Linked DNA regions of Homo sapiens: regions 2, 3, 4 and 5 are each linked to region 1. Evidence: promoter capture Hi-C in human tissues and cell types (Jung and others, 2019). All regions are on one chromosome and are shown on one strand. The core of a region is centred on a gene start or on the middle of the fragment in contact, and the rest is flanking DNA. Distances in the headings are between cores, read along the strand shown. Region 1 holds the start of ZNF721 (zinc finger protein 721). Region 2 overlaps ZNF595 (zinc finger protein 595). Region 3 has its middle 63 kb from the start of ZNF732. Region 4 has its middle 9.3 kb from the start of ZNF718. Region 5 overlaps ZNF718 (zinc finger protein 718).

The links. Contacts are between HindIII fragments. The study calls those that stand out against the background at their distance.
Region 2: a contact is called between a fragment that was not itself captured here and the fragment with the promoter of ZNF721 in region 1, in 1 of the 25 tissues and cell types used here (mesenchymal stem cells).
Region 3: a contact is called between a fragment that was not itself captured here and the fragment with the promoter of ZNF721 in region 1, in 1 of the 25 tissues and cell types used here (lymphoblastoid cells).
Region 4: a contact is called between a fragment that was not itself captured here and the fragment with the promoter of ZNF721 in region 1, in 1 of the 25 tissues and cell types used here (dorsolateral prefrontal cortex).
Region 5: a fragment that was not itself captured here is called in contact with the fragment with the promoter of ZNF721 in region 1 in 1 of the 25 tissues and cell types used here (spleen).

Annotation. Positions count from the first base shown.
Region 1 is chr4:497,722-500,421 of GRCh38, reverse strand. It overlaps ZNF721 (zinc finger protein 721), which reads left to right and starts at 1,266. Exons shown (of 3, transcript NM_133474.4): 1 at 1,266-1,366. It overlaps PIGG (phosphatidylinositol glycan anchor biosynthesis class G (EMM blood group)), which reads right to left and starts at 1,212. Exons shown (of 13, transcript NM_001127178.3): 1 at 933-1,212; 2 at 1-26. The coding sequence starts at 1,086. RefSeq lists enhancers at 251-1,114, 1,072-1,551, 1,115-1,980. The HindIII fragment of the contact is 23,753 bases long and covers 1-2,700 here.
Region 2 is chr4:86,937-89,636 of GRCh38, reverse strand. ZNF595 (zinc finger protein 595) reads right to left here. Exons shown (of 4, transcript NM_182524.4): 4 at 1,429-2,700. The coding sequence ends at 2,186. Among named protein-coding and RNA genes, the nearest start is that of ZNF595, 35 kb to the right of the region's middle. The HindIII fragment of the contact is 4,411 bases long and covers 1-2,700 here.
Region 3 is chr4:241,534-244,233 of GRCh38, reverse strand. It overlaps the pseudogene ZNF876P. Among named protein-coding and RNA genes, the nearest start is that of ZNF732, 63 kb to the left of the region's middle. The HindIII fragment of the contact is 5,231 bases long and covers 1-2,700 here.
Region 4 is chr4:113,875-116,574 of GRCh38, reverse strand. No RefSeq gene overlaps it. Among named protein-coding and RNA genes, the nearest start is that of ZNF718, 9.3 kb to the left of the region's middle. The HindIII fragment of the contact is 4,823 bases long and covers 1-2,700 here.
Region 5 is chr4:137,571-140,270 of GRCh38, reverse strand. The region is part of intron 3 of ZNF718 (zinc finger protein 718); the gene reads right to left. Among named protein-coding and RNA genes, the nearest start is that of ZNF718, 14 kb to the right of the region's middle. The HindIII fragment of the contact is 4,199 bases long and covers 1-2,700 here.

The DNA.
Region 1 (2,700 bases), core at 17-2,516:
CAGCGTGGTCCAGTTAGAACTGGCTCCTAAGTGTTTGAAAGAAAAAAAAGGAAATTGAACTCTAAACTTTCCTTAGCATCAAGCACCTTCACAATCTAGCTTCTACCTACTTCTCCAGCACATACCCTGCGATATCTACATAACCCAACCCAAAAGGAGGCGACTTGTACTTGGTAGGTAGTGCTGGGGGGAAAGGACGGGGGTTAACAGGAGTAATCTTAGGGACCCACAGTAGCAAGCAGTGAATTATCCTCAGTATGGTGAAGAGTACTGGGGTAGGAGAATCCCTACGTAAGGGTCCTGGAATGGGACATTTAGGGAGCTTGACCTAAAACGCAGAGCTGCAGCTACGGGATGGCTGGGCGTTTACATACTGCGTTTACATGGTCAGCGGCTGGCGATGTGTGCAAGTGGTCCAGAACCAGGGCGCCTTTACTTGCTGTATATGGCTGGGTAGGTGAAGCCTAGGAAGAGGCCTAACGCAGAGAGGCCTTAGCCCCTAGGCAGGGAAAACATCTTGGAGGAATATAAGAGACCAAAACGCGAGGGGATCGGCAGGGGTCTTATCTGTTGTGTGCTAGGGGGCAAAAAGGGCGCCTATAACGGGGAGTGACCCAAAGGCTGCTCAGGAAAGGGGCGGGAGCTCTGGACGAGTAGAAGTGGAGAGGCTGGATCCCAGGTATGGACACAGCTTACTTTGTGGTGATCAGGAAGGAAGGTCGAAGTGGGGCCAGTAGAGGTGGTTGCCACAAAGTTGTAAGAATACAGAAAAGAGACGCTGGAGCGGTTAAAAAAAATTTCTGAGGTGGGGACCATAATGGAAGAGACCACCGGGGAGCGCCGAGAAGAAATCCGAGCAGCGAGGCTCAGAAAAAAGGTCTTCTAGGGGATGTGGGGTCAGGGGAGCGGAGACGCCGGGGAGGGGTCCGTACCAGCCGAGGGTTCGGGCGCTGGGGGCTCCGCTCCGTGTTCCGCTCTGGCAGAGGAACGAACGGGAGCCGGGAAGAATCCCCGAAGGAAGACCGCGATCCCTAGCACCTCGATCGCTACGCAACAGGTAGCGAAAGTCCCGGAGCCCAGCCGCATCGTGGACACGCTAGGCTGGATGCGGAACCGACCCCACCTGGAGCCTCGCCCTGCTGCAGCCGCGCTTCCGGCTCCAGGTAGCCGCCTCTAAGCAATAACGCCAGGCCTTATCGTCGCAGCGACAGTGGCGTCACGTCCGCCGGCGCGCCACAGCAGCGCGTCACTTCCGCCAGCCCGCCACAGCGGGGCGTCACCTCGGACATACGAACAGCGGGCGGTGTTCCCGGCTCCGTGGGGCCGTCTTCCCGGCGAGTCCGCGACGGTCGCCGCCCACGGCGAGGTACGAGGTTTTAAAAAGTTTTTAATTTGGAAGGCAGGGTGCAGTGGCTCACGCCTTTAATCCCAGTACTTTGGGAGGCCGAGGCGGGCGGATCACGAGGTCAGGAGATCGAGACTATCCTGGCCAACATGGTGAAACCCCGTCTCAACTAAAAATACAAAAAATTAGCGGGGCGTGATGGCGGGTGCCTGTCGTCCCAGCTACTCGGGAGGCCGAGGCAGGAGAATCGCTTGAACCTGGGAGGCGGAGGTTGCAGTGAGCCGAGATCGCGCCACTGCACTTCTGCCTGGCAACAGAGCGAGACTGCGTCTCAAAAAAAAAAAAAAAAAGAAAATTCAACCCAATACCTCAGACAACTGGTAAATATCTTAATGATTAACTTCGTTTTAAAGATGCCACATGAGTGAGATCATGAGGTATTTGTCTTTCTGTGTCTTATTTTGCTTACATGATATCCTCAGGTTTATCCGTGTTGTGGCAAATGATAGGGTTTCATTCTTTTATTAGAGCTGAATAGTACTCCATTGTGTATATATACCACATTTTCTTTTTTCTGAAAGGAAAATCTTGGGGCCCCAAAATTACTAAACTAAGGGAAAAGACAAGCTCGGAACTGCTCAGGACAAACCTGCCTCCCATTCTATTCAAAGTCATTCCTCTGCTCACTGAGATAAATGCATATTGATAGCCTCCTTTGGAGAGGCTTATCAGAAACCCAGAAACTGCAACCATTTGTCTGTCACCTACCTGTGACCTGGAAGCCCCCTCCCTGTTCCAAGTTGCCCCCGCCTTTCTGGACAGAACCAATGTCCTTCTTTTTTTTTTTTTTTTTTTTTTTTTCTTTTTCTTTTCAGATGAAATCTCACTCTGTCGCCCAGGCTGGAATGCAGTGGCGTGATCTCAGATCACTGCAACCTCTGCCTCCCGGGTTCAAGCAATTCTCCTGCCTCAGCCTCCTGAGTAGCTGGGATTACAGGTGCGTGCCACCACGCACGGCTAATTTTTGTATTTTTAGTTGAGACGGGGTTTCACCATGTTGGTCAGGCTGTTCTTGAACTCCTGACCTCGTGATCCGCCCGCCTCGGCCTCCCAGAGTGCTGGGATTTACAGGCATGAGCCACCGCGCCCGGCCTGTTTTTTTTTTGTTGGTTTGTTTTTGAGACGGAGTCTCGCTCTGTCGCCCAGCCTGGAGTGCAGTGGCACCATCTCCGCTCACTGCAAGCTCCGCCTCCCGGGTTCACGCCATTTTCCTACCGCAGCCTCCCGTGTAGCTGGGACTACAGGCGCCCGCCGCCACGCCCGTCAAATTTTTTTTTTTTTTTTGTATTTTTTAG
Region 2 (2,700 bases), core at 15-2,514, 410 kb after region 1:
TAGTGACAAAGAGTATATAATCCCATTTAAATGAGCTATCTTAAGTGAAATGATTTTTAGAAGACAGTCAGAATTATAAAGTACTCCTCCACAGATGGAATAAAAACGTGTGAATGCCGGGAGCAGTCATCTGCCACCTGGAGAACAGAACTTCCAGGCACCAGGGGAATGCAAGCACAGATGACAACAGTGATGGTAGCAAGGGCACTGATTAGAGTAGTGGTGGCCTGAGGAGTACTTTTTGGCATGCACCAGTGTGCCAGAGGCTGGGGCCCACACTGGGGATTGGAGTTGCCCTCCATAACTCCAGAACCAGGTCCTGGTGTTTCACTTCATGTTCCACCAATGCCCCTGCAGACAGTAAAGTACTTATCTCAATTAAGTGATCTAAACATTGCATTGATAAGCTATAAATAACCTCAAACACTCCAGTTAAAAACAATTTACCACACTGAAAAATTTCAAACTTCTAATCAGAACATAGAAAGTCTGTATGAAATTACATGGCAAAAAGAGAACAGTGAGAAGACTGTAGCCATAACACAAAGAAGAAGGGGTGTGAGGCATACATAGCTGGGAATAAACCATAAAGATATTCCAAAACTAAAGATAATTAGAAAATAAAATCAGAGGTTCTCTTTAAATTCAGAATGAGTCAGTTTTGCAGCCTGGTAACAGATGTTCTCTCCACATGCAGACTGCCATTTCTTCACTATAGACATTTTCATTCTCTTACTTGGAGCTACAAACTCACTCCAGAAAGAATAATATTTATGGCTAATTATGGAGCATCTATTACCCAGTACTTTCTTATGCTTACTATAATTATATATCAAAACATCCCATGAATTATTAAGTTTCACCAGTACTTACCTGAAAAAATTGGCACAATAAACTCATTTATGTCAATTATAAAAAGTGAAACAAATAACTAAACGGCTCATATAGGGTTATCCAACTAAAGCAATAAAATGAAATGTCCTAACTAAAATATAACTTAATACACGAATTATGAACTTGCATCTAAATATTTTGTGTTTGCTACTAAATTTTATAAAATTATAATTTCTGACCAGCTCACATAATAAATACTTCATAAAGTAAAAATAAAAAAAATAAGAAAGAAGTCAATTATAGCTCTAGCATGAGTAACAGACAAATAAAAACAGAATTTGCATGGGAGAGTCTCAACAATGATCCGTTAAATTTTACAGTAATAGAAGAAAATATAAATTTGATTTCAGAATGTTTTAGGTTTCTAGATTTCTAGTAAAATATCCACCTTATTAAAATAATCTTTGTTCCAATATTGCTATTTTCCTTGGAAAATAGATACAAACTCTCACAGAAACTCAACTGCTTGCCCCATAATTTTCTTACACCTAAATTTTATCTTTAGAGCAATACATTTACATATTTAACTCCATGTAAATCAAAACCAAAGTCTGCATTTATTTGCGGAAAGAGATGCTACATGTTCAAAGATAAATATGGAACATTTTTTAAAAGCATTCATGACTTAGAAATGTGTGAATTATAATTATACTCATATACTTATTATAATCATAAAATAACCTGTAGTAAAAAAATAATTGCACATTTAAAAATAATTAAAGTGGCCAGGTACGATGGCTCACACCCGTAATCCCAGCACTTTGGGAGGCCGAGGTGGGTGGATCATGAGCTCAGGAGTTCGAGAACAGCCTGGCCAGCATTGTGAAACCCTGTCTCTACTGAAAATACAAAAAATTAGCTGGGCATGGTGGCACCTGCCGGTAGTCACAGCTACTCATGAGGCTGAGGCAGGAGAATTGCTTGAACCCAGCAGGTGGAGGTTGCAGTGAGCCAAGATCGCACCACTGCGCTCCAGCCTGGGCGACAGAACGAGACTCTGTCTCAAAAAAAAAAAAAAAAAAAAAAATTAAAGTGTATAACTGGACTGTGTGTAATACAAAGAACAAATGCTTGTGAAGAATAACTCATTTACTCTGATGTGATAATTACATGTCATATGCCTGTATCAAAATAATCCAAATAAGCCATGAATAGATACACATACTATGTACCTACAGAAATTTTAAAAAATTTAAAATAAGAAAAATAATACAAGTTTATATGGGAGCAATATTCTCCAATTTATTTGCTGTGTAAAGACACTGGAATTAGAGATTACTAGAAATGTCATTCAACTATGTTCCTTGCCAGTATGAATTCGCTTGTGTACAGTAAGGGTTGAGGGCCGATTAAAAGCTTTGCCACATTCTTCACATTTGTAGGATTTCTCTCCAGTATGAATTATCTTATGTTTAGTAAGGGATGAGGACCAATTGAAGGCTTTGCCACATTCTTCACATGTGAAGGGTTTCTCTCCAGTATGAATTCTCTTATGTTTAGTAAGGGTTGAGGATAAGTTATAGGCTTTGCCACATTCTTTGCATTTGTAGGGTTTCTCTCCAGAATGAATTTTCTTATGTTCATTCAGGGCTGTGGACCGAGTAAAGGCTTTGCCACATTCTTCACATTTGTAAAGTTTTTGTTCAGAATGAATGCTCCTGTGTATAATAAGGCCTGAGGATTGGTTAAAAGCTTTGCCACATTCTTTACATTTGTAGGGTTTCTCTCCAGTATGAATATTCTTATGTTCATTCAGGCTTGCGGACCATATGAAAGCTTTGCCACATTCTTCACATTTGTAGGGTT
Region 3 (2,700 bases), core at 66-2,565, 260 kb after region 1:
GAACTGTACTTTCTTGATTATCAGGTCCTAGACAATGTAAAATCATGGCACTTTGATACACTTCTGAGGCGGTGCCCACACCGACAAATCCTGTAACAGGCTTTTGTTTAGGCCAATTTTTTGGCCATCTATTTAAGGCAATGATAGAGACATCAGCCCCGGTATCCACTAATCTTTCAAACTGCTTTTCCTGAATAGTGACTGTACACACGGGTCTATCCTCTGAGACCCGATTATCCCAATAAGCAGCTTTTCCGGCAGGGTTGGTACTTCCAAACCCTCCTGTTCTGTTTTCTTTTCCCCAATTTGAATATAAGGCAAAAGCAGTATTTGAGCAATTCTATCATCACCTGGATTGTCGCTCCAGGGAACAGTGGAGCTGATCACTAACTGAATTTCCCCTTTATAATTTGAATCAATTACCCCAGTATGAATTTGGACTCCCTTCAAATTTAGACTTGATCTCCCTAAAATAAGGCCTACTGTCCCTTCTGGCAGTGGGCCATATGCCCCTGTAGGAGGAATCTTTTGTTGGGGCTCTCCAGGGAGTAAAGAGACCATTTGAGCGGCACATAAATCTGCTGTGCTGCCTGCTGTGGCAGGGGACAGCTGTTGTATTGTTGTAATCGGTTGACTCCCTGAAGTGGTGGTATTTGCTGTGGGGGTTGTCCCTGAAAACCCTGAGGAACAAACAGCTGAATAAGGAATGCACCAGTTTGTGGCGGGGCCTGAGACTGGCCCCTCTTCCCATTTCCCGACAATGGTTGCCGATTTTTATCAAATTTAGAATGACATTGATTAGCCCAATGTTTTTCTTTTCCACGTCTTGGACACAGGCCAGGTGGCTCTTTATTTTTTGCTGTAATAGCTTATTATATTCTGTTTATTTAGGACTGGGCAGTTCTTTTTTAGATGACCAATTTGAACACAATTATAATATTTTCCCCCAAATGTTCTAACTTGTCCTCCTAAAGTGACCCCCGTCATTGCTCGAGCCATTAGCATAGCCTTATGCATAGCTCCTCCAATCCCATCACAAGCCTTCACATATTCTATAATTACATCAATTCCTGCTGGAACTTTTCCTTTTAATGGCTTTATGGCCAACTGACATTCTGGATTTGCATTCGATAGGCCATTAATTCTACAATAACTTTTTGGGTGTTATCATCTGTAATAGATTTTTGAGCAGCATCTTGCAATCTTGCCACAAAGTCAGGATATGGCTCTTTAGAGCCTTGTCTAATTGAATTAAAAGAAGGGCAGGCTGTTCCTGGGTCCTGAATTTTTTCCCAGGCCCTGAGGCAAATAGCCCTTACTTGTTCAATAGCCTCATTCTGCATTACTGATTTTTGGTTAATGGTGCTCCACTTTGGACCTGTTCCTAACAATTGGTCTACATCTATATTAACAGTGGGATTTGTAGCCTGATTTTTTCGTACCTGTTCTTGTACTCCATTCCATCAATCCACCAGGTTTTAAACTGTAAATGAGAGGGTGAAAGGGAAGATTTAGCCAAAATTTCCCAATCATAAGGAATAAGTCTATTTCCATGAACAATGGAATCTAATAATGTTCTCATGTAAGGGGAGTTGGGTCCATATTGTTTATAACTCCTTTCTTCATATCTTTTAACATTTTCAAGGTGAAAGATTCATATCTAGCCTCAGCTTGGGTAGGCACTCCTACTTGTCTCTTCCCCGGCTGGTACCGGTTGTAAAATTACTGGGAACTGCCATGCCTCAAGATCTCCCTGTTTTCTGGCTTAATCAATGATTTCATACAGTGTGCTACATTGTCCACTAGGTGGTGCTGTAGGATTAAGCGCCACCGCCGTGGGTTGCTGAAGCTGAGATAAGAGGCATATTTACTTTCAGTTTGTCCCATCGTTACCCTGGGTTCCTTTGAGCGCACAAGCTTACCGCAAGGCTGACCGTGGATGTACTCAGGAATCTCTCGTCGACTTGTCCTCACTGCTCATGTTCTTAGCGTACCTTCACCCTAGAGAAAGGCACCCACGTTGGGTGGCAGATGAAGGCGTGGCCTGCCCCTCCACACCTGTGGGTATTTCTCATCAGGTGGTATGAGAGACTGAGAAAAGAAATAAGACACAGACACAAAGTATAGAGAAAGAACAGTGGGCCCAGGAGACCGGTGCTCAACATACGGAGGACCTGCACCGGCACCAGTCTCTGAGTTTCCTCAGTGTTTGTTTATTAATTACTATTTTCACTATCTCAGCAAGGGGAATGTGGCAGGAAAACAGGGTGACAGTGGGGAGAAGGTCAGCAAGAAAACATGTGAGCAAAGGGATCTGTGTCACAAATAAGTTCAAGGGAAGGTACTATGCCTGGATGTGCACGTAGGCCAGATTTATGTTTCTCTCCACCCAAACATCTCAGTGTAGCAAAGAGTAACAGAGCAGCATTGCCACCAGCATATCTTGCCTCCAGCCACAGGGCGGTTTTCTCCTATCTCAGAATAGAATAAATGTATGATCGGGTTTTACACTGAGACATTGCGTTCCCAGGGGCATGCAGGAGACAGAGGCCTTCCTCTTATCTCAACTGCAAGAGGCCTTCCTCTTTTACTAATCGTCCTCAGCACAGACCCTTTATGGGTGTCAGGCTGGGGGATGGTCAGGTCTTTCCCTTCCCACGAGGCCATATCTCAGGCTGTCTCAGTTGGGGGAAACCTTGA
Region 4 (2,700 bases), core at 56-2,555, 380 kb after region 1:
TAACTTGAAGCTCCCTAACATATATATACATATATATATATATGATAGCAGTCCCCAAAGGAGAGGAGAAAGAGGAGGGGATCAAAAATATATTTGAAGAAGCAGCCAAAAAATTAGCAAATTTGGTAAATTATGAAAAGTTCAAAGTGCAAGAATTGCAAAGAAAATTATGACACATCACAATAAAATTGCCCCAAACCCATGATAAAAAGTCAACATGCTCTAAATAATCCATGGGTCAAAGCAGACATCAAAAGGAAAATCAGAAAGTATTTTGAACTGAATGAAAATAAAAACACTAAAGTTTGTGAGCTGCCTCTGAAAATGAGCTTGGGGTAAATTTATATCATTAGTAATCATATTAGGGGAAAAAAAGGTCTAAATCAATGACCTAAGCTTTAAACTTAAAAATTTAGAAAAAGTAAAATTAAACCCAAAGAGAAAAGAGAAAATAACAAAGACCAAAACAGAAATCAATGAAATAGAAAACAACACACACACACACACACACACACAGAGAGAAAGGTCAATAGAATCAAAGCTAGTTTTCTAAAAAAAATTAATAAAATTGATTATCCTATATCTAGACTAGTCAGTCAGGGGAGAAAAGAGAACAGGCACAAAATAACAATATCAAGACTAAAAGATGTGACATAGCTACAGATGTTCACAGATGTAAAAAGGATAAGGAAATAGTCTGAACAGCTTTATGTCACTAAATTTTAGAACTTAAAATACATTTGAGACACAAACTACAAAAACTGATCCAAGAAAAAAAAATCTAAATGGCATGTATTTATTTTAAAAATTAAATTTCTAAAAAAAAATTAAATTTCTAGTTAAAAACTTGCTCACAAAAACATCTCCAGGTCCAGATCACTTCACTTTGTGGTCTCTAGATGAAAACTTTTAAAAGAAAACTTTTATGACAATGAATTAAGCAAAGATTTCTTCCATAAGACATGAAAAACACAATGCGTGCAATAAGAAATTAACAAATTAGATTTTATCAAAAAATTTAAAAACTTTTAATTTTTAAAATATAAGCCATAGACTGGGAGGAAGTAGTTGCAAATCATATATTTGATAAGAGACATGTTTCCAGAGTGTATACGGAAAAAACTGATTTTTAAAACTGACCAAAGATTTGAATAGGCCTCACCAAGGTGTTACAGGAAAGGGGTCCTGATCTGGACCCCAAAAGAGGGTTCTTGGTTGTCCAGCAAGAATATGGGGCGAGTCCATAGAGTAAAGTGAGAGCAAGTTTATTAGAAAAGTAAAGGAATGAAAACTGGCTGTACCACAGGCAGAGATGGGACATGAGCTGGTTCTACTGACTATACTTATTTCTTGATTGTATGCTCAACAGAAGGTGGATTATTCGTGAGTTTTCCTGAATGAGGAAGGTTCCTCCCCCTTTTAGATTATATAGAGTAACTTTCTGACGTTGCCTTGGCATTTGCAAACTGTCTTGGTGCTGGTGGGAGTGCCTCTTAGCATGCTAATGTATTATAATTAGCATATAATGAGCAGTGAGGATGACCGGAGGTCACTTTCATCACCGTCTTGGTTTTGGTGGGTTTTGGCTGGCTTCTTTACTGCATGCTGTCTTATCAGAAAGGTCTTCATGACCTGTATCTTGTGCTGACCTTCTGTCTGATCCTGTGAGTAAGAATGCCTCACCTCCTGGAAATGCAGCTCAGTAGGTTTCAGCCTCTATTTACCCAGCCCCTTTTCGAGATGGAGTTGCTCTTGTTCAAATGTCTTTGACAAAAGAAGATATACAAATGGCAAATATGCACATAAAAAGATGCCCAACATAAACAGTAGTCTGTATTTGGAAGCAACAGAAATAAGGAAAATGCAAACTAAAACCAAAATGAGAAATTACTCTCCACATATTAAAATGGCTAAAATGAAAATGGCTAACCATACCAAGTTTATATTATCATGTGGAACAACTGGAACACTCACACTGTTGGTGGGAATGTAAAATGGTAAAACTACTTTGAGAAAAAAATTGGGAGTTTCCTAAACAGGTAAATGTTCACCTATCATATAATCTAGCCATTCCACTACCAAATATTTGCCCAAGAGAAAGAGAGAAAGGAAAGCATATGTTCACACAAAGACTGCTTACAAATGTTTCATTTTCTTTGTAATAACCCCAAACTGGAACCAGTGAAAATGTCCATCATCAGGTGAATAAATAAGCAAACTGTGACATATCCACACAATTGAATATGACTCAGCAGTGAAACAGAATGTGCTATTGACACATACTTCAACAGGGATGAATCTCAAAATAATTATGCTGAGTGAAAGAAGCCACAGAGAGAGACAGAGTTATGATTCCATTTCTATAAAACTCTGGAAACAAACTGACTGATACTGACAGAAAAAAGATCATTGCTTGCCTAACAATGTGAAGGGAAGAGGCAGGGAGGGGTCGAGCAAGAGATTACCGAGGAACATAGGAAATTTGGAGGTGTGATGGGCATATTCATTGTTATGATTGTGGTAATGGCTTTATGGGTGCACATGTATTTTGGAACTTATTAAACTGCACACTTTATTTTTTTGACACAGGGTCTTGTTTTGTCATCCAGACTGGAGTGGAGTGGCAGGATCATACCTCACCACAGCTTTGAACTCCAGGGCTTAAGCAATATCCTGCCTTAGATGCCTGAAAATCAAGTG
Region 5 (2,700 bases), core at 97-2,596, 360 kb after region 1:
CCGATCTCAGTGTCAGATGTCTCTGACCTTAGGTGGGCACCTCCAGAGCACACTATAAGCTTTATAAAAATAGCCATGAACTGCAATGAGAACTGGATGCCGGGTGGGCCTTTTTGTTCCGTAGCCAGTTGAGTACGGTAAGGGAAGAATTTAGCATAAGAAGGTTTAAGTCCCTTAAAACATGTGCGAGTTTGCTCTGAACTGCGCCACACATAGGGATCGGGGACCACGTGCAGAAAAGATAAAAAAAAAAGTCATTCCCCCTTCTGGGCAGGGCAATTATAAACAGCGACTTAAAGACTGAGAAATAAAGGAAAAAAAAATGAAAAAGACCCAGGTTCCTTAAGCAAACCAGGAGGTGGCAGTCAGCCTTCTCTGCACGGAAACCCATTAGTTTCACAGGCCACAGCCAGAAACCTGCAGTTGCCTCCACGTTTAGGTGCTGCCCACCAAGTGTTCCAAGTTGGAAATGAAAAGAGAAAGCTCTTGTATGGAGCAGAAAGGAAAGAGAGAAAAATGAATCCCAAACTTTGGGCTTACTTCTTCCTCCTGGCTGGCCAAAATATACGTTACCAGTTGTAGGTGTCCAGGTCCTTGACGTCTTTAACAAAGAATTGGACAAAACGCACAAAGCAAGGAAGGCATGAAGTGATTTATTGAAAATGAAAATACACTCCACAGTGTGGGAAAAAGCCCAAGCGTAGGGGCTCAAAGGCCCCATTACAGAATTTTTGGGAGTTTAAATACCCCCTAGTATGCCCTATGTAAATGGAGAGGATGAAATAAAGTTACAAAGTTATTTATGGCCCATGCCCTATGGAAAGGTGAAGTGTGAAGTGGTCTTATGTTTTCTGCCTCCAGACTCTATTTTCCTGCCTCAATATAATGGGGGAGTCTCTTCAACAAATTGTGTTACAAAAACTGAATATCCATATTCAGAGGAATAAAACTAGACCTCTATCTCTTGCCATCTAAAAAAAATTAAATCAAAACGGATTAGAGACAAATCTAAGACATCAAACTATGAAACTACTACAAAAAACATTGGTGAAACTCTCCAGGAAATTAAACTGAACAAAGATGTCTTGAGTAATACCCCACAAGCACAGGCAGCCAACGCAAAAATGAACAAATGGAATCACATCAGTTAACGAGCTTCTAAACAGGAAGTGAAACAATCAACAAAGTGAAGAGACAACACATAAAATGGGAGAAAATATCTGGAAACTGCCTATAAGGAATTAATAACAAGAATACATAAGGCACACAAACAGCTCTATAGGATAAAATCTGATGATAAATAAGCAAAAAATTTGAATAGAAATTTCTCAAAAGAGAGCCTACAAATAACAAAAAGCCATATGACAGGGTGCTCAACATTATTTATCATCAGAGAAATGCAAATCAAAATGACAATGAGATATTATCTCACCCCAGTTACAATGGCTTTTATCCAAAAGTCAGGTGATTAATAAATGCTGGTGAGGATGTGGAGAAAAGTGAAAGTTGAACTCTAGTACTCTCTTGGTGGGAATGTAAATTACTACAATGACCATGGAGACCAGTTTAGAGGTTCCTCAAAAAATGAAAAATAAAGCTACAATATTATCCAGCAATCCCATTGCTAGGTATGTACATAAAAGAAAGGAAATCAGGACATCAGAGAGATATTTGAAGCTCCATTTTCACTGCAGCAGTGTTCACATTAGCCAAAATTTAGAAGCAACCTAAGTGTCCCTTACATGAATGGACAAAGTAAATGTGGTGCACATACATAACAGAGTACTTTTCAATCATAAAAAAGAACAAGATCCCATCATCTTCAACAACATGGATGGAACTAGAGGTCATTATGTTAAGAAAAATAAGCCAAGCACATGAAGGCAAACGTTGCATGTTCTCACACATTTGCTGGAGCTAAAATTAAACTAATTCATAGAGACAGAGAGCAGAAGGATTGTTACCAGAGGCTGGAAAGTGTAGCAGGGGACTGGGGGAAGTGGGGAAGATTAATGGGTAGAAAAATAATTAGAAAGAGTAAGATGTAGCAGTTGCTAGTACACAGAGTGACTATAGTCAAAAGCAATTTAATTGTACATTTTTAAATAACTAAAAGAATGTAGTTAGGTTGTCTGTAAAACAAAGAATAAACACTTGAGGTAATGAATACCCATTTACCCTGATATGATTTTTATGCATTTCATGCCTACATCAAAATATCTCATGTAACCCATAGATACAAAAAGCTACTGTGTACTCATAAAAATTTAAAATCCTGAACCATATACAAAAACTATCTTGAATAAATTAAATATTTAAATGTAAGAAGCATAACTCTACAATTTTTGGAAGAAAATACAGGAAGAAAGATTATGACATTGGTCTTGGCAATGTTTTCTTGCATATAGCATCAACTACATGAGTAACAAATTTAAAAACACAGAAAAATGGACTACATTAAATTTATCTCTGAACATTAAAATAAACATTTAGTCAGTCCCGAGTAAGAAAAAAAAAAGTAAAAAGTATACATTTGACAGAAGTTAACACCCAGAATAAACTCCAAAAAGTCAACAAAGAGTAAGTAATATGATTAACAAATGAACAGGAGGTGAAAATGTTTCTCCAAAGAATAAATACACACAGCAAACAATTATTGAAAAAATTTTTAATCTTTAGAAAAATGTAAAGCAAAACCAC